5 separate regions of the Homo sapiens genome follow, and all the other regions are linked to region 4. The links are contacts of gene promoters, found by promoter capture Hi-C in blood cells and fetal thymus (Javierre and others, 2016). All regions are on one chromosome and are shown on one strand. The core of a region is centred on a gene start or on the middle of the fragment in contact, and the rest is flanking DNA. Distances in the headings are between cores, read along the strand shown.

Evidence for each region. The method cuts DNA at HindIII sites, captures the fragments that hold promoters and counts their contacts. A CHiCAGO score of 5 or more calls a contact.
Region 1: a contact is called between the fragment with the promoter of METTL5 here and the fragment with the promoter of METTL8 in region 4, in 2 of 17 cell types (non-activated CD4 T cells and naive B cells). The highest score is 7.6, in non-activated CD4 T cells.
Region 2: a contact is called between the fragment with the promoter of BBS5 here and the fragment with the promoter of METTL8 in region 4, in 4 of 17 cell types (activated CD4 T cells, naive CD8 T cells, total CD8 T cells and 1 more). The highest score is 7.4, in activated CD4 T cells.
Region 3: the fragment with the promoter of PPIG here is called in contact with the fragment with the promoter of METTL8 in region 4 in 7 of 17 cell types (naive CD4 T cells, total CD8 T cells, non-activated CD4 T cells and 4 more); the score reaches 11.9 in naive CD4 T cells.
Region 5: a contact is called between the fragment with the promoter of ITGA6-AS1 here and the fragment with the promoter of METTL8 in region 4, in 5 of 17 cell types (fetal thymus, total CD8 T cells, total CD4 T cells and 2 more). The highest score is 11.8, in fetal thymus.

The regions. Positions count from the first base shown.
Region 1 is chr2:169,823,528-169,826,227 of GRCh38, reverse strand. METTL5 (methyltransferase 5, N6-adenosine) reads left to right here and starts at 1,323. Exons shown (of 7, transcript NM_014168.4): 1 at 1,323-1,739. The coding sequence starts at 1,631. RefSeq lists a silencer at 574-777. The HindIII fragment of the contact is 10,424 bases long and covers 186-2,700 here.
Region 2 is chr2:169,478,052-169,480,751 of GRCh38, reverse strand. BBS5 (Bardet-Biedl syndrome 5) reads right to left here and starts at 1,258. Exons shown (of 12, transcript NM_152384.3): 1 at 1,140-1,258. The coding sequence starts at 1,198. RefSeq lists enhancers at 985-1,324, 1,335-1,444. The HindIII fragment of the contact is 729 bases long and covers 591-1,319 here.
Region 3 is chr2:169,582,921-169,585,620 of GRCh38, reverse strand. It overlaps PPIG (peptidylprolyl isomerase G), which reads right to left and starts at 1,270. Exons shown (of 14, transcript NM_004792.3): 1 at 1,131-1,270. RefSeq lists an enhancer at 1,305-1,354. The HindIII fragment of the contact is 789 bases long and covers 757-1,545 here.
Region 4 is chr2:171,432,540-171,435,239 of GRCh38, reverse strand. METTL8 (methyltransferase 8, tRNA N3-cytidine) reads left to right here and starts at 1,250. Exons shown (of 10, transcript NM_001321154.2): 1 at 1,250-1,357. It overlaps DCAF17 (DDB1 and CUL4 associated factor 17), which reads right to left and starts at 1,014. Exons shown (of 14, transcript NM_025000.4): 1 at 537-1,014; 2 at 54-157. The coding sequence starts at 662. RefSeq lists enhancers at 188-747, 1,567-1,636, 1,309-1,869, 1,847-2,016 and a silencer at 347-1,256. The HindIII fragment of the contact is 4,328 bases long and covers 1-1,260 here.
Region 5 is chr2:172,464,635-172,467,334 of GRCh38, reverse strand. ITGA6-AS1 (ITGA6 and PDK1 antisense RNA 1) reads left to right here and starts at 1,313. Exons shown (of 2, transcript NR_157573.1): 1 at 1,313-1,511. It overlaps ITGA6 (integrin subunit alpha 6), which reads right to left. Exons shown (of 26, transcript NM_000210.4): 2 at 1,672-1,796. All of the region lies in intron 3 of PDK1-AS1 (PDK1 and ITGA6 antisense RNA 1), which reads left to right. RefSeq lists an enhancer at 903-1,072. The HindIII fragment of the contact is 13,641 bases long and covers 1-2,700 here.

The sequences.
Region 1 (2,700 bases), core at 74-2,573, 1.6 Mb after region 4:
CTTAAAAATAATTGAAAAAATAATAAAGCTTCCCCCATTACTAAGCATCCAACCATTCTTTTCGTAGGCCACCTTTCTCTTTCTCTTTCTTTTCTTCTTTCTTTTTTTTTTTTTTTTTTTTGAGACAGGGTCTCACTGTCGACCAGACTGGAGTGCAGTGGCGCAATTTCAGATCACTGGAAGCTTTGCCTCCCGGGCTCAAGCGATTTTCCCACCCCAGCCACCCGAGCAGCTGGGACCACAGGCTCGCGTCATCAGACCCAGCTAATTTTTGTATTTTTAGTAGAGACAGGGTCTCCTTATGTTGCCCAGGCTGGTCTCAAACTCCCGTCTCAAGCAATCCGCCCATCTCGGCCTCCCAAAATGTTGGGATCACAGGGGTGAGCCACCGCTTCCGGGGCCACGTTTAATTGTTCACATTTACTCTTTCTTCTTCCTAAATTTCCATTCGCTCCACAATCTGCTACAACTTAATTTCTGCTCCTACTTTATGAAGCCCGACCTCTTTCCAGTATTTGACACCACTACCTATTCTTTTATTTTCATTTCCACTGTCTTTTTTTTTTTGAGACGGAGTCTCGCTCTGTCTCCCAGGCTGGAGTGCAGTAGCTTGATCTCGGCTCACTACAAGCTCCGCCTTCCGGGTTCACGCCATTCTCCTGCCTCAGCCTCCCGAGTAACTGGGACTACAGGCGCCCGCCACCAAGCCCGGCTAATTTTTTTGTAATTTTAGTAGGGACAGGGTTTCACCGTGTTAGCCAGGATGGTCTCAATCTCCTGACCTCGTGATCCACCCACCTCGGCCTCCCAAAGTGCTGGGATTACAGGCGTGAGCCGCCGCGCCCTGCCTCTCCACTATCTCTTCTTTGGGTTTCTTTGACATCACCACTCCTGTGAGAATTGCAAGTGACACAAATGACCTAAAAATTGGGAAACAAAGTTACAATAAAATAAGGCATGAGAATGGAGAAGGAGGTAAAGGTGAATGGAGATCGCTACTTTTTGAGCCGAGACTTGGGAAACAAGAAGAGTCACTCTGGGCCATACAACAAAGTGACTGTGACTTTCTCTCCCGCATCCCTTTCACTCTGTCTTTCCCCATCCTTTGAGGGCCCGCAGGTACTCATGGCAAACTAGAGGGTAATGAGCACGCGACAGGCGGCGAGGACTGGCGGTGGGTCAGCAAGTAGCGCAGGCTTTGCAGGCGGAGGGGATGGGGCAATGAGGCCCCCAGGTGGCCAGCGGAACCCCGGCTCAAGATAAACGCTGCAGCTCGGCGCCGGGCCGCTGGGCGGCGAACGCGTGCGCGCGTGCGGCCTGGCGCTTCCGGCACCGGCCGAGGTGCGGGTCGCCTCCAGAGGTGCGTGGTCGTGGCGCGAGGGATCCTGAGGCTGCTCCAGCAGTGCGCCGCCGCCGTCTCCTGGGGCGGCTTGGGTTAGCCGGGAGGTGGGTCAGAGGCTCGCCCCGTGCCCTGCGTCCGGGCGTCTCCTTAGGGCGCGTCTTCGGGTCCGGCCAGCGGTGCTGAAAAAGGGAGAAGGTTGGGGGTAGGGAGGAAACAAGATCCCAGTTCAATAGATTTCTCCGCAGATCCTGTGCCTTCAAACCCTACGAGTCCATACTTTAAAACAAAATGAAGAAAGTAAGGCTTAAGGAACTAGAGAGTCGCCTGCAACAAGTGGATGGATTTGAAAAGCCCAAGCTACTTCTGGAACAGTATCCTACCAGGCCGCACATTGCAGGTAGGGCGGCTGGTTCACCACGCCCCGGCTTTCGGCGTTAGTCCAGTCTACTCTGTGATAAAAATAGAACAGTTATTTGGATACAGAGAATGTCTAGAGAAATTCTGCCCTAAGATCACCTGTCGCGTTAGAGAGGCCTTCCTTGACACTGCAGCTCAAGGCACACCCTCCACAGACATACACACTATCATTTTACTGTCTAGTTTTCTGCATATCCCTTAACACTGCCAGACATCTTTTTAATGTGTTTTTTTCTCTTCTCACATTACAATCTCTGAGGACAAGGAATTTGTTAGACTTGTTCATACTTGAATTCCCAGTGCCCAGAAGAGTCGCTGGTACTATTTAGGAGCTCAGTAAACATTTACTAAATAAGGATCAGTTTCCCATTGCTACTAATTGCCTACGCAAGGATTCTTGTGCTATATACTCTGCCCTAGAAATGAATACCAGAGTTGATAGTGGAATGATAGTTTAACAAAATCAGAGTATGTGCTGTGTAAAGATGAGCATGCATATTTTAACAGATTTTCTGAGCATTAGCATTGTTGCTTCATGCCAGATATTGATACTGGGAGTACAAGAGAGAATACAGGACAACATATATTTATGTTACCGAAGTCATTGGGAAACCTTAGGGGAAAAAAATTTTATTATTATTATTTTTTGAGATAAGGGTCTCACTCTGTCACCCAGGCTGGAGTGCAGTGGCATGATCACGGCAACTGCAGCCTTGACCTCCAGGACTCAAGTGATCCTCCTACCTAAGCCTCCCGAGTAGCTGGGACTACAGGCATGCACCGTCATGCCTGGCTAATATTTTTTATTTTTTGTAGAGACAGCGTCTTGCTATGTTGCCCAAGATGGTCTCAGACTCCTGGGCTGAAGCGATCTTCCCACTGGGGCCTCAAGAAGTGCTGAGATTACAGGCATGAGCCACTGAGGCTGGCTCCTTAGGAAA
Region 2 (2,700 bases), core at 9-2,508, 2.0 Mb after region 4:
CGAGATCGCGTCATTGCACTCCAGCCTGGGCAACAAGAGCGAAACTCTGTCTCAAAAAAAAAAAAAAAAAAAAAAAAAAAAGAATGACAGAAAATGTCATAGAAAGTGCGCAATATGTTACTACAGTCCGTAATTTTACGAATTCCTTTCTCTTTCATCTTCTTAAAGGGTCTAACATGTTAGCATTAGATATCTAGCTATACTTAACCTGAGAAATTTATCAATATTTCATTTTTCCATCTAAGGAGGTGAGGTCCATGATAAGGAACGATTCCATCTAAGGAGGTGAGGTCCATGATAAGGAACGATTCCACCTAAGGAGGGGAGGTCCATGATAAGGAACGATAAGAAGTAGCTAAGAAGCTCCATGCCATTAATCCAGGAATCTTAGCTTTAGCGTTTCTCAACACTTAGTAACCCAACCGGCATTTCCCGCCCTGGATTTTGGAGTAGGAGGTTTCTAACCACTTTTTCTTTACGATACTTTCCAAAAACATGGTTTCTATTTAATGTATGATAATTTCCAAAAACAGGTTGCAAAAGAAGACTCCTTCTTGTTGGTGACTGATATGAATAACTAGATGAAAGCTTACCAAGGACATAAAGTTTGCGCGGTTAGTAATTTTTGACGACTGCCTTACTCCCACCTCCCTTATTTTACAGACATGAGGATTCTAGCTTGAATGATGAAGACATCTGCTCAAGGGCCCACACTGTGGGTCGATATTACACATCTACTTTTAGAACCCTAGTTTCCTGAGTCCCTGACCTACGTTCCTTCCATGAAACTGAAATCCCAAGCTCACGTGGGTGTATACGGGACGCTAAGCCCCGGGTGGCCCCGGTCGTGCTCAGGTTCACATTCCTGATCCGTCCCGCGGGCCAGGATGGGGGAACCGGAGGTCGCATGGGACCAAAACTGTGTAATGCCGATGCGCTCTTGCCGCGGCGCCGGCCTCGAGAGGGCCACAGTGGCCCAACCAGCCTGAGGTCTCTCGAGGCGCGGACGACCGGCGCAAGCCTCCCACCCTCACCAGGGCCGCGAGCTGCGGAGGTGCAGTCTCCGCCCGCGGGTCCCTAACGCGCACGGCGGCGCCCTCTACAGGGTTGAAGATCCCTCGGGAATCTTGGAAACTCACTGCGCGGACAGGTCGAAACGGACATCCCGATCCTCCCAAAGCGCATCCAGCACCGACATGGTGAACAAGGCCCGTGGCAGGATCTCTCCACAGCCGTGCAGGCCTAGCTGCGTCTCTCTGGCTCCAAGGCAACGGGCCGCCTCTGTCACGACGTCTACGGCGGGCGCCGAGACTCAAGCTTCCGCGAGAGTGCGCGCGCGTCGCCCAGCTCTTTCGCGTCGTTAAGCCGATTTGAGATGCGAGGCAGGATTTAGGAGTCTCTGAGAAGCCCAGCTGTGTCCGCCAAGGGGAGCGTGCCTGACCTCTGGGCGACCTTCCTTGCCTCCAAACAGACATCCTTTAGCCATTTTACCCCTCTCCTTATTTCTCTTCACCGTCAAGAGATTCAGGTTATTAGCCGGGCATGGTGGCTTCTGCCTGTAATCCCTGCAGTTTGGGAGGCCGAGGCTGGAGGATCACTTGAGGCCAGGAATTCGAGACTAGCCTGGGCAACATAGCGAAACTTCATCTCTACAAACACAAACAAACAAACAAAACCAACCCAAAATTAGCCAGGGGTGGTGGTGCACGCCTGCAGGCTCAACTACTCGGGAGGCTGAGGCGGGAGGATCTCTTGAACCCAAGAGGTGGAGGCTGCGGGGAGCTATGATCGTGCCTCTGCCCTCCAGCCTAGGTGATAGAGATATAGGATCAACAGGTTCGTATGCCTGCTGTGCAGTAACAAACCCATTACACGAAGACAGCAGAGTTTGCAGCAGGGAAAGAGTTTAATGATTGCAGGGCACCTAGCAAAGAGATGGGAAGAGATCCTCGAATCTATCTTCCCAAGAGTTCTGGGCTGAGGTTTTTAAGAGGATCACAGAGGGCGAGGGGCTGGAAAATTGGGGTCCTTGATTGGTCGGAGTAAGGGAGATGAAATCATCAGGATAGGGAAGCTGCATTCTTTGCTGAATCAGTTTCTCACGGGTTCCTCAGACCAGCTGGCATCAGTGGGATCCTTCAGGCCAGCTGAGGCAGTAGTTTCATTGGTATGCAGGATCTGAAAGACTATCTCAAAGGGAAAACTGAGTATTTCATAATGTTCAAGTTGTTCTCTATAGAGCAATAGAAGGGAACTATAATCTTGTGACAGGGTCTGCATGATTCTAGGACAATAGGCACCAAACAACTCTGAGCAAGCAGGTCAGAGAGGAAGCTGACCTCATGATTAATGCCGAATTGGCTGCAAGCTTGGTTTATTTTTGTCCCCTCCCCCACACTTTCTTCCCTGATTACTTTTATAAATTTTATTGGGATGGTTTTAGAATGAGGAAAAAAGAAATTTAGAGTTAAAGCTTCAAATTCCTTACCTGGGCCTAGCTCAATGTGGCCCTGCCTATGTCTGCAACCTCCAACCACCCTCACTTCTGGCTGCTCTCTTGCCAGACAGGGCTCAGAGACTTTGGAGGGCCCCCTTCCTTTGCCTGGAACACTGTTTCCCCAGACCTCTGCATAGGCCTGCCCTTTGTCACTTAAATCTCTGCTTGGGCTGGGCGCTGTGGCTCAGGCCTGTAATCCCAGC
Region 3 (2,700 bases), core at 21-2,520, 1.8 Mb after region 4:
ACGATTGTGCATACTCCTTGCCAGCACATCTAGACTTTGCTCCTTAAGACTAAACATGAGCTGGCCGTGCGCGGTGGCTCTCGCCTGTAATCCCAGCACTTTGGGAGGCCGAGGTGGGCGGATCACGAGGTCAGGAGATCGACCATCCTGGCTAACACGGTGAAAACCCGTCTCTACTAAAAACACAAAAAATTAGCCGGGCATGGTGGCACGTGCCTGTAGTCCCAGCTACTTGGGAGGCTGAGGCAGAAGAATCACTTGAACCCAGGAGGCGGAGGTTGCAGTGAGCCAAGATCGCGCCACTGCATTCCAGCCTAGGCGACAGAGCGAGACTCCGTCTCAAAAAAAAAGACTAACCAAGAACCAAATTAGCATACTTCCCCTTCAGGCATACTGAGCCCCGAAATCATCATCTTCCTCCTAAAGAGTAATTATCTCCTCCTAAAAGGCCTGCGCAGCTCACAGCTCCTCCGAAACACGGGGGAACTTCGCGAGAGCTCAAGACCCTGGACTTGAGTTTTAGAAAAATGCTTAACAAAGTGGCCTCTGCCACTTAACTGCACGACAGCCACTGTGCTGTGAGAGGAAAAGGTCGAAAGAGGAGGAAAGCTAGTCTTCAATTTTAATCCCTGTGATTCAGGCTCTTCGCCCGTCACTCTCCAACCCTAGCCTGACAGGACGTCAGGCTGTCTCCCCCTTCCCCACCAGTCCCGCCACCTACCCCGCAACAGTGCTGAGTCTTAGGATTTTGAAGCTTTAAAAATCAACCCGGCTCCCTAGAGTTCAGGCCGCAGTCGCTGCCGCCATGTTACAGCTTGTGCGGCAAAATGCGTCAGTGAGGGAGGTGTGCGCCTGAGTGGGGAGGGCGGGGGCTGGCAGAGGAAGGACCGTCCCCAGGCCCCGGGGCTCGACTGCAAGCCTTCTCCTTCTGCAACAGCGGCAAAGGCACTGCTGCGGTCCTCAGGGACTTCCTCTGGGCCCAAGCAGCCCCGATACCTCGAGGGAAAGACGGTAAACCCAACCCGGTCAGCCGCGCCGGCTCCGCCCCTCTTCCCAGGCCCTTCCCGCTTTCGTACGCAGGGACTGCTGAAATGACGCCGCCAGAACAACTTGAGCCTCATACCACTTACCTGCACCGGTAGAGTTTTCCTCTTCTCTGGGTCCGGTCCTTTGAAGCGCTTCAAATCTACCGCCGCCAGAAAAGGCGCTAAAGCCCGCTAACCGCCTCCCTCCCCCACAACTCAGTCCTGGCATGGAGAGACAGCGTCGCACCGGAAGCGCGTCAGGAGTGGGTTGTCAGCATCGGCCAGCGTTCACCTGCTTGCGTCACCACGCCCTCCTAGGACTTCTAGGATTTTGGTGCCTTTTAAATTCCTAGTTTATAGGTGGCCTAATGCTTTGTGGATGCGTTGACTGGGAACGCTTGTAACCGTTAAAATGCCATATCCTTTGTGAAGTAAAGTGCCTCATTTAATAAACATTTATTGATCTTACGCTAGGTTATCAGAAAGGAAGGCCTACCTTCATGGAGCTTCCAGTTAAGCTTCCACTTAACGCTAGGATATAAGTTCTAAAAACGCAGTAATGAGCAAAGTGTTATTTGAGGAAAGAGGAAGAAATTACAAAGAGCTTTGATGTTCTTTGTTGTTTTACAGATAAAGAAATTGAGGCTCAGGGAAGATAAACGCCTCCTCCTCAAACACACTGTTCTTGAATGCCAAAGCAAGTCTTTTGATGCCAAATCTAGTGCCTTCTAGAGAAAATATGGCATATATTATTTAATTATTTTAAGGGGCAAGGGTCCCCGGATTATGTTAGAAATAAATAACCATTGCTGTTTGGGCGGGGGGGTGGGGGGGGATGGGCAGTGATTCTGGTAGGGATGTGGGGTGTGTTTTAAAGGAACTAGCTAACTAGAGGACTTAAATTGTTCTGTCGTTTAAAGGCAACGTAAATTATGATCATTTAAATTTTTCACTCACTTGCATCAGGTAAATTAATTATCAACAACAGTTAGGCATGTGGTGGTGCTTCTAAGGGGCGTGACCAGTTTTACACAGCAGTAAAACAGAGGACATTTCTGCCTCTCCACCCCCACCTCTTTTAAGTCATTGCCCTTTATTGCAGGAGAGCAGCAGCATATTCATCTTTAGATAGTTCAGAGATTAAACGGATTTACACTTCGCTGTGTGTGGAGGGGACAATTCTGCAATACCTTAAAACAGGGGTCCCCAACCCCTGGGCCACAGACTGGCCTGGCTAATTTTTTGTATTTTTAGTAGAGACAGGGTTTCTCCATGTAGGTCAGGCTGGTCTCAAACTCCCAACCTCAGGTGATCCGTCCTCCTTGGCCTCCCAAAGTGCCGGGATTACAGGTGTGAGCCACCACGCCCGGCCAACGCTTTTCGAAAGAAGACATACTTGCAGCCAACAATCATAATGAAAAAGCTCAACACCACCAATCATCAGAAAAATGCAAATCAAAACCGCAGTGAGATACTATCTCATACCAGTCAGAATGGCTATTATTAAAAAGTCAAAAAATAACAGGTGCTGGTGAGGTTGTGGAGAAAAAGGAACATTTTACAGTGCTGGTGGGAGTTTAAATGAATTCAACTATTGTGGAAGACAGCGTGGCGATTCCTCAAAGACCTAGAGGCAGAAATACCATTTGACCCAGCAATCACATTACTGGGTATA
Region 4 (2,700 bases), core at 1-2,500:
AGTTAAGATCAACAGTGAGGTGAATTACAGCAAAATTATCAATAAAAAGTTACCTGCTGACACAGCGCCGATAATTGTCAAAATATATTCTTCCTCTCTCATAGGCTATAGGTGACCTGGAATGAGTTGTCCAGACATTCTTAAATTTAGTACTTTCCTAAAAGACATAAAGAATTTCCGTTCAGGAAAGAACTCTTAGGCTTTAAGTTAGATTTTAAATTTTCAAAGCAACATAATGTCACCTATATTATTTTAAAACTTTTTGCATCCTTCCTCCACTCTGCCCTCATGTTTTGGCTTAATGAGGTGACCAACTTTTAGAATAATTGTTTCCAGGTAAGACATAAGAAGCGTAAAACTAAAAGCAGCTGGTGGCCCTATTACCACCTATCCCAGATTCCGGGCTTGTATCCTCCTCCCCATCACATGTGACCCTATAAAGGGAGGCCCCAGCGCGTTAAAACCGCATCCCCGCAGGAGGCTCGGCCGCCGCGCGCCCGCGGCCCTCCGTCCCGCCCCGGCCGGCTGGCGGTCACCTGGCACACCAGCGCCCGCAGGATGCCCAGGTTGGTCCTCTGCACCACGCCTGCGTCGCGCGAGAAGCAGCCCAGCGCCCGGCGACTCAGCCGGCTGCACACGTTGGGCTTCCGGGTCGGGCCCATGGAGGCGCGGGCCGGGCCCTGGGTAGGCTGGGCCGCCGAGTGGCGCGCCCCACACTCCCGTGCTGGGCAGCCGCCGCTGCCTTCGAATTTCGAGGCCCAGACTTTCCCGGCGGGGCCCAGGGAAAGCTGACACGGGGAGGCGGGCAGGGAGCACCCGACGGCGGGGCGAGGGAAAGCAGAGCCGCTTGCACCGCCAGAGCGCGGAGAGAAGGGAAGAAGCACTCCCTTTTCGATCTGCCCCAGGCTCTCTGGCCGCTGACAGTGCGACGCTCCGGTACCGCGCGGCCGGCCGGAGCCGCTCTCTCACCGGGAAATGTAGTTCCTAGTGCCTCGTGAGGCAGCCCGGCTTCTCCCAGGAACTACAATTCCCGTCAGGCGGCGGGGAGCGAGGGCTTGCCCGGCCCTGCCTCTGCCTGCCGCGGCCCCGCCTCCTCCGGCCCGCGGAGGCTGCGCTGTCTTGCGGGCGCGCTTCTCTGTGCTGCGAGTGGCTAGCTGGGCAGAGCCCTGGGGGCGCGGTGCTGCCGCCTCCAGGTCTCCGCCCCGTGTGTGCGCCCTGCACTTAGGGATCCCTCCCTCACTGCCCCGGTACTCACAAGCTTCTCGGCCCCGACCTTCGCCCTGGGAGGTTCTGGCCAGGTGCCGGGAGGGGCGCTGTGTCGAGGGCGATCCCCCCAAAGCAGCGTCCCGTGCTAAAGGTACGCCCCGCGGCTTTCCCTTCAGCCGCATGTTGGCTGAGGGGGACGGTAAACTGTGCTTTTGTATTAGGAAGATGCTGGCTTCCCATTCACTCTTAGTTTCACCCTCCAAACTGGGATTGAGTTACTCTTTCCCGGAGGCTTGTCCTTGGGTGGCCTGCGGGGACACTGACTGGTTTTGCGATAATTGCTTCATTTCATTTCCTCTCGCCTCCATTCTTTTTTCTTTATAGGGAATAAAATATGAAATGCTTACATTCTTATTGGACGGCCTAAGATATTCCTCGTCGATGTCTCTAAGTAAAAGATATACTTTGTTAACTAGCCCTGCCTGTATGTTCAAAGTTCCCAGCACACTAAACTTTCAGCAAGCTTGCACCACATGTGTCCCACCGCCATGCTCTAAGTCCCTTAAGGGTGGGGCCGCTGTATCTCCCACGTGGACTTGGGCATGCTACCTCTTGTTCATAGGTGCTCAAAGAAAGCCAGCGATCGCACCTGACTGGCAGAGCAAAAAGTACAGTACAGCAGGTCCTTGAATCGCATTTTTTCGTTCAGTGTCATTTTGTATAACTTGATGAGAAAAAATAATAATTTCCTACCGGGGCTACTGTTTGTGTGGATCTTGCCCCTTCTCCCCACGTCTGCATGGGTTTTCACCAGGTACCCCAGGGTACTGCCTCCCACATCTCAGTGCAGGCTGGATGAATTGGCCTTGTCTGTGTTTCCTGTCTGAGTGTGAGTGTGAGTGCTCCCTGCGATGGAATGTCGTCGTGTCCAAGGGTTGGTTCCCACCTTGCACCCTGAGCTGAGGGGATAGGCTTCAGCCACCCTCGACCCTGAACTGGAATAATTAGGTAAATAACTATCTTACTTGTTTTTATTAATCTTCCTTAAATGTATGTATAGCTCCCATTTATTTCAATGTTTAATATTAGAAGTGTTTTGGTTTGTATTTAGGAGTTTGGTGATGTTTTTGTGACCAGAAATATGTTATAGGAACTTAACTTTTGTTTATATCAATTGGCCTATGGTAAAAATGGTTTTGTTATATGTCATTTTGCTTACAGTCAGTTTCCAAAAATCTGTTGATGACATTAAGTGAGTACTTACAGTACTGGGTGAGTGTGTTGGGTCACAGTTTAAGTGTTTAGTAAACATTGGCCATATCTCTTTTTAACCCTGCTGAATTTCCTTCAGGGCTCGAGCTTTTGCTGATTTTTCATGACTTATTTACAGCATACGGTAGAGTGCTTTGTATATTTTTAGAGAGTGCTACAATAGTTAATTTGGTAATTCATGAATGCAGCTGTCACTGAGAAAACTGGAACCCAGAAAAGATA
Region 5 (2,700 bases), core at 64-2,563, 1.0 Mb before region 4:
CTTGTCATCTCAAGGAAACAGAGATGTGGTTTTTGGAATCTTTCAAACATTTGAAACATAAAGTACTTAGCTCTATATAGTTGCCTATTTTGTCCAACAATACCCTTTGCCCTCTCTTGATACCTAGGGTCCTGAATGCAGAAGGTAAGTGAAACTGTAAGACTAAGGGAGCCCTCCAAAATACATCTCTTAAGGCAACAATGTAAAATCTAGTATTCCAAACTGCAGCTACCATCCAAACTAACAAAAAAAATGGGTACTTCTCTATATACTCCCCAATTTTTTTATTTAACAGCATTAAATGTTCTCTTCTTTACTGGAGATGGAAGAAAAAGACTCAGATTTACTTTAGGATCTTGTAGCTGACAATGTATCAATGCCAAACAGGAGAGTTACTGTTAGTCAGAGAGACGGGGACCACAAACACCACCAGGTGCTCATTTCAGTATCAATTTAAACCCACTGTGTGACCTATATCCAAATTTTGCACTCCTCCATAAGTAGCAATACAGACACAGGTTTTAATCTTGAATCATTACAAAAACATTAAACAACTTTAGACAGAAGGAAAAATGCCAAAATGTTAAAAAATAAGTCTAGATACTGAGATTGCCAGTGGGTTTTTTTATTCTTCATAGGTCTGTGTATTTTACCAGCTTCTTAAAATTAACACATATTAGTTTCTAATAAAAGAACACATGTTATTTCTTTTCTTGAGATGGTATCTTGCTCTGTCACCCAGGCTGGAGTGTAGTGGCACGATTTTGGCTCACTGCAGCCTCTGCCTCCCAGGTTCAAACAATTCTCACGCCTCAGCCTCCTAAGTAGCTAGGACTACAGGCGTACACCACCACGCCTGGCTAATTTTTGTATTTTTAGTAGAGATGGGGTTTCACCATGTTGGCCAGGCTGGTCTTGAACTCCTGACCTCAAATGATCCACCCAACTCGGCCTCCCAAAATGCTAGGATTACAGGTGTGAGCCACCGACGCCTGGCCAACAAATGTTATTTCTAAAAGATGAAGAAGCAAGAGAAGAACATAGACACGAATCTGCAAATCTACTTAGACCGAACATATCAAACGAGGTTTGGCTAGAGCTTCTCAGTACACTAATTGCTCTGCTCAACCTACAAGAAGCCAGGTACACTGGATGTCAACATGCCTACCTCATGGTATCTTCTACCTATCCAGAGCCCTTAACAAAACAAGTCTCTATCTGAGACAGGAGGGAAAACTTTATCTCTGTTAGCCAGCTCTCATTCCAAAGGGGTCTGATATTTAAAACTGTCTTTCTCCCAAATATTTTAACAGCATGTGAGAACTTTTGGCTGATGAATACAAGATACGCTCATTCATTCTCTTCATTGCTATGAAATGAGTTTTTCCACAACCTCCTGCAGAACCTCAACACATCACTAGGTGGCAACATCCCTACACCATATCGGTTTAGAAACCACGGTTAGGAGGAGCAGCAAAACACGCGGCATCCCAGTATGATTCAGAAGTAAAGTAAGTAAATATTTTCAGGGCAAATAAAAAACAGTCAAGTCTGATGCAATTAAAAGAAGTCCTCTCTACAAGAATAAATGTTTGTCCCCACTCTCCTCCCTCATGGAAACAGTACAGGCAAGCTGCCGGAGTGAACGCTGAGTGAGGGAAAGGAACGCACCATCGTTATCAAACTCGATCCGCGTGCATGGCCCCCGGGCGGTGATGTCGCAGCTGTACAGCCCTCCCGTTCTGTTGGCTCTCTGCAGTGGAAGCGCTTCTGCCCGCGGGGCCCCCACGAGCAACCTGTTGATGAAACAGAGACAATTTGGAGATTTGAATTTAATATACGTTTAACAGTTAAATCAGTCAGAACTAGGAGATAGTGGGATTATTCTTTGTCTAGGAGTCCACTAATTCTTCAACAGCTTAGGCAGTGAGTGAGAACAAATGTAGAGTCCTATGGCTGGTTCATGCAAAACGCACAAACACAACTAAACAGGGGAAGCCAAAGAGGGGATACCAAAACGAGGAAAATAGGCCTGTCTCTCATAGTATCAGCATTTCTTGCTGGGTATGATCTGGTGTTTAAAAGACACCCTCTTCAAAGAATACAACCTCTAAGCCCCTATGATGCCAGGGATATCATATGAAACTCAAGAGAAGAAACCAAATACTTGTGACAATGGAAGGAAAAAATGGCCACACTAAATGTAATAAGCAATAATATGTCAGTTTCTAACACTGTGCCTTCCTGAGGTAGTTTTCAAGGGTAATTCTGACTATATCTTAGATTTTCAGTTTATATACTAATTGAGAGAACCTAATGGTAAGTAAGATACAACTCGACTGAATTATTCACTTGCAGCCTTGGCCTCTTTCCAATTCTTTTTTTTTTTTCCCTCCAGTTTTATTAGGGTAGAATGGACAAATAAAAAGCAGATATATTTGAGGTGTACAAGTTGATGTTTGTTCTTCCAAGTCAGTTCTTACTTCCTTGCACTTTTGTCACATTACAAGAGTTCGTCCTCTCTCATCCTATCAGTCTCCCACAAAGGATTCAGGGACAACTGGTGTAGCTCCACTTATGTACTAGGCACTGTAATATTCCTTCTTCTCCCCAGCCGAGTGTTTTTATCTCCTATAAGGAGGCCCCCAGTCCAAATCCACAGTCCTTAAAATTTCACCATCTCACAGCTTGACAGGCTCT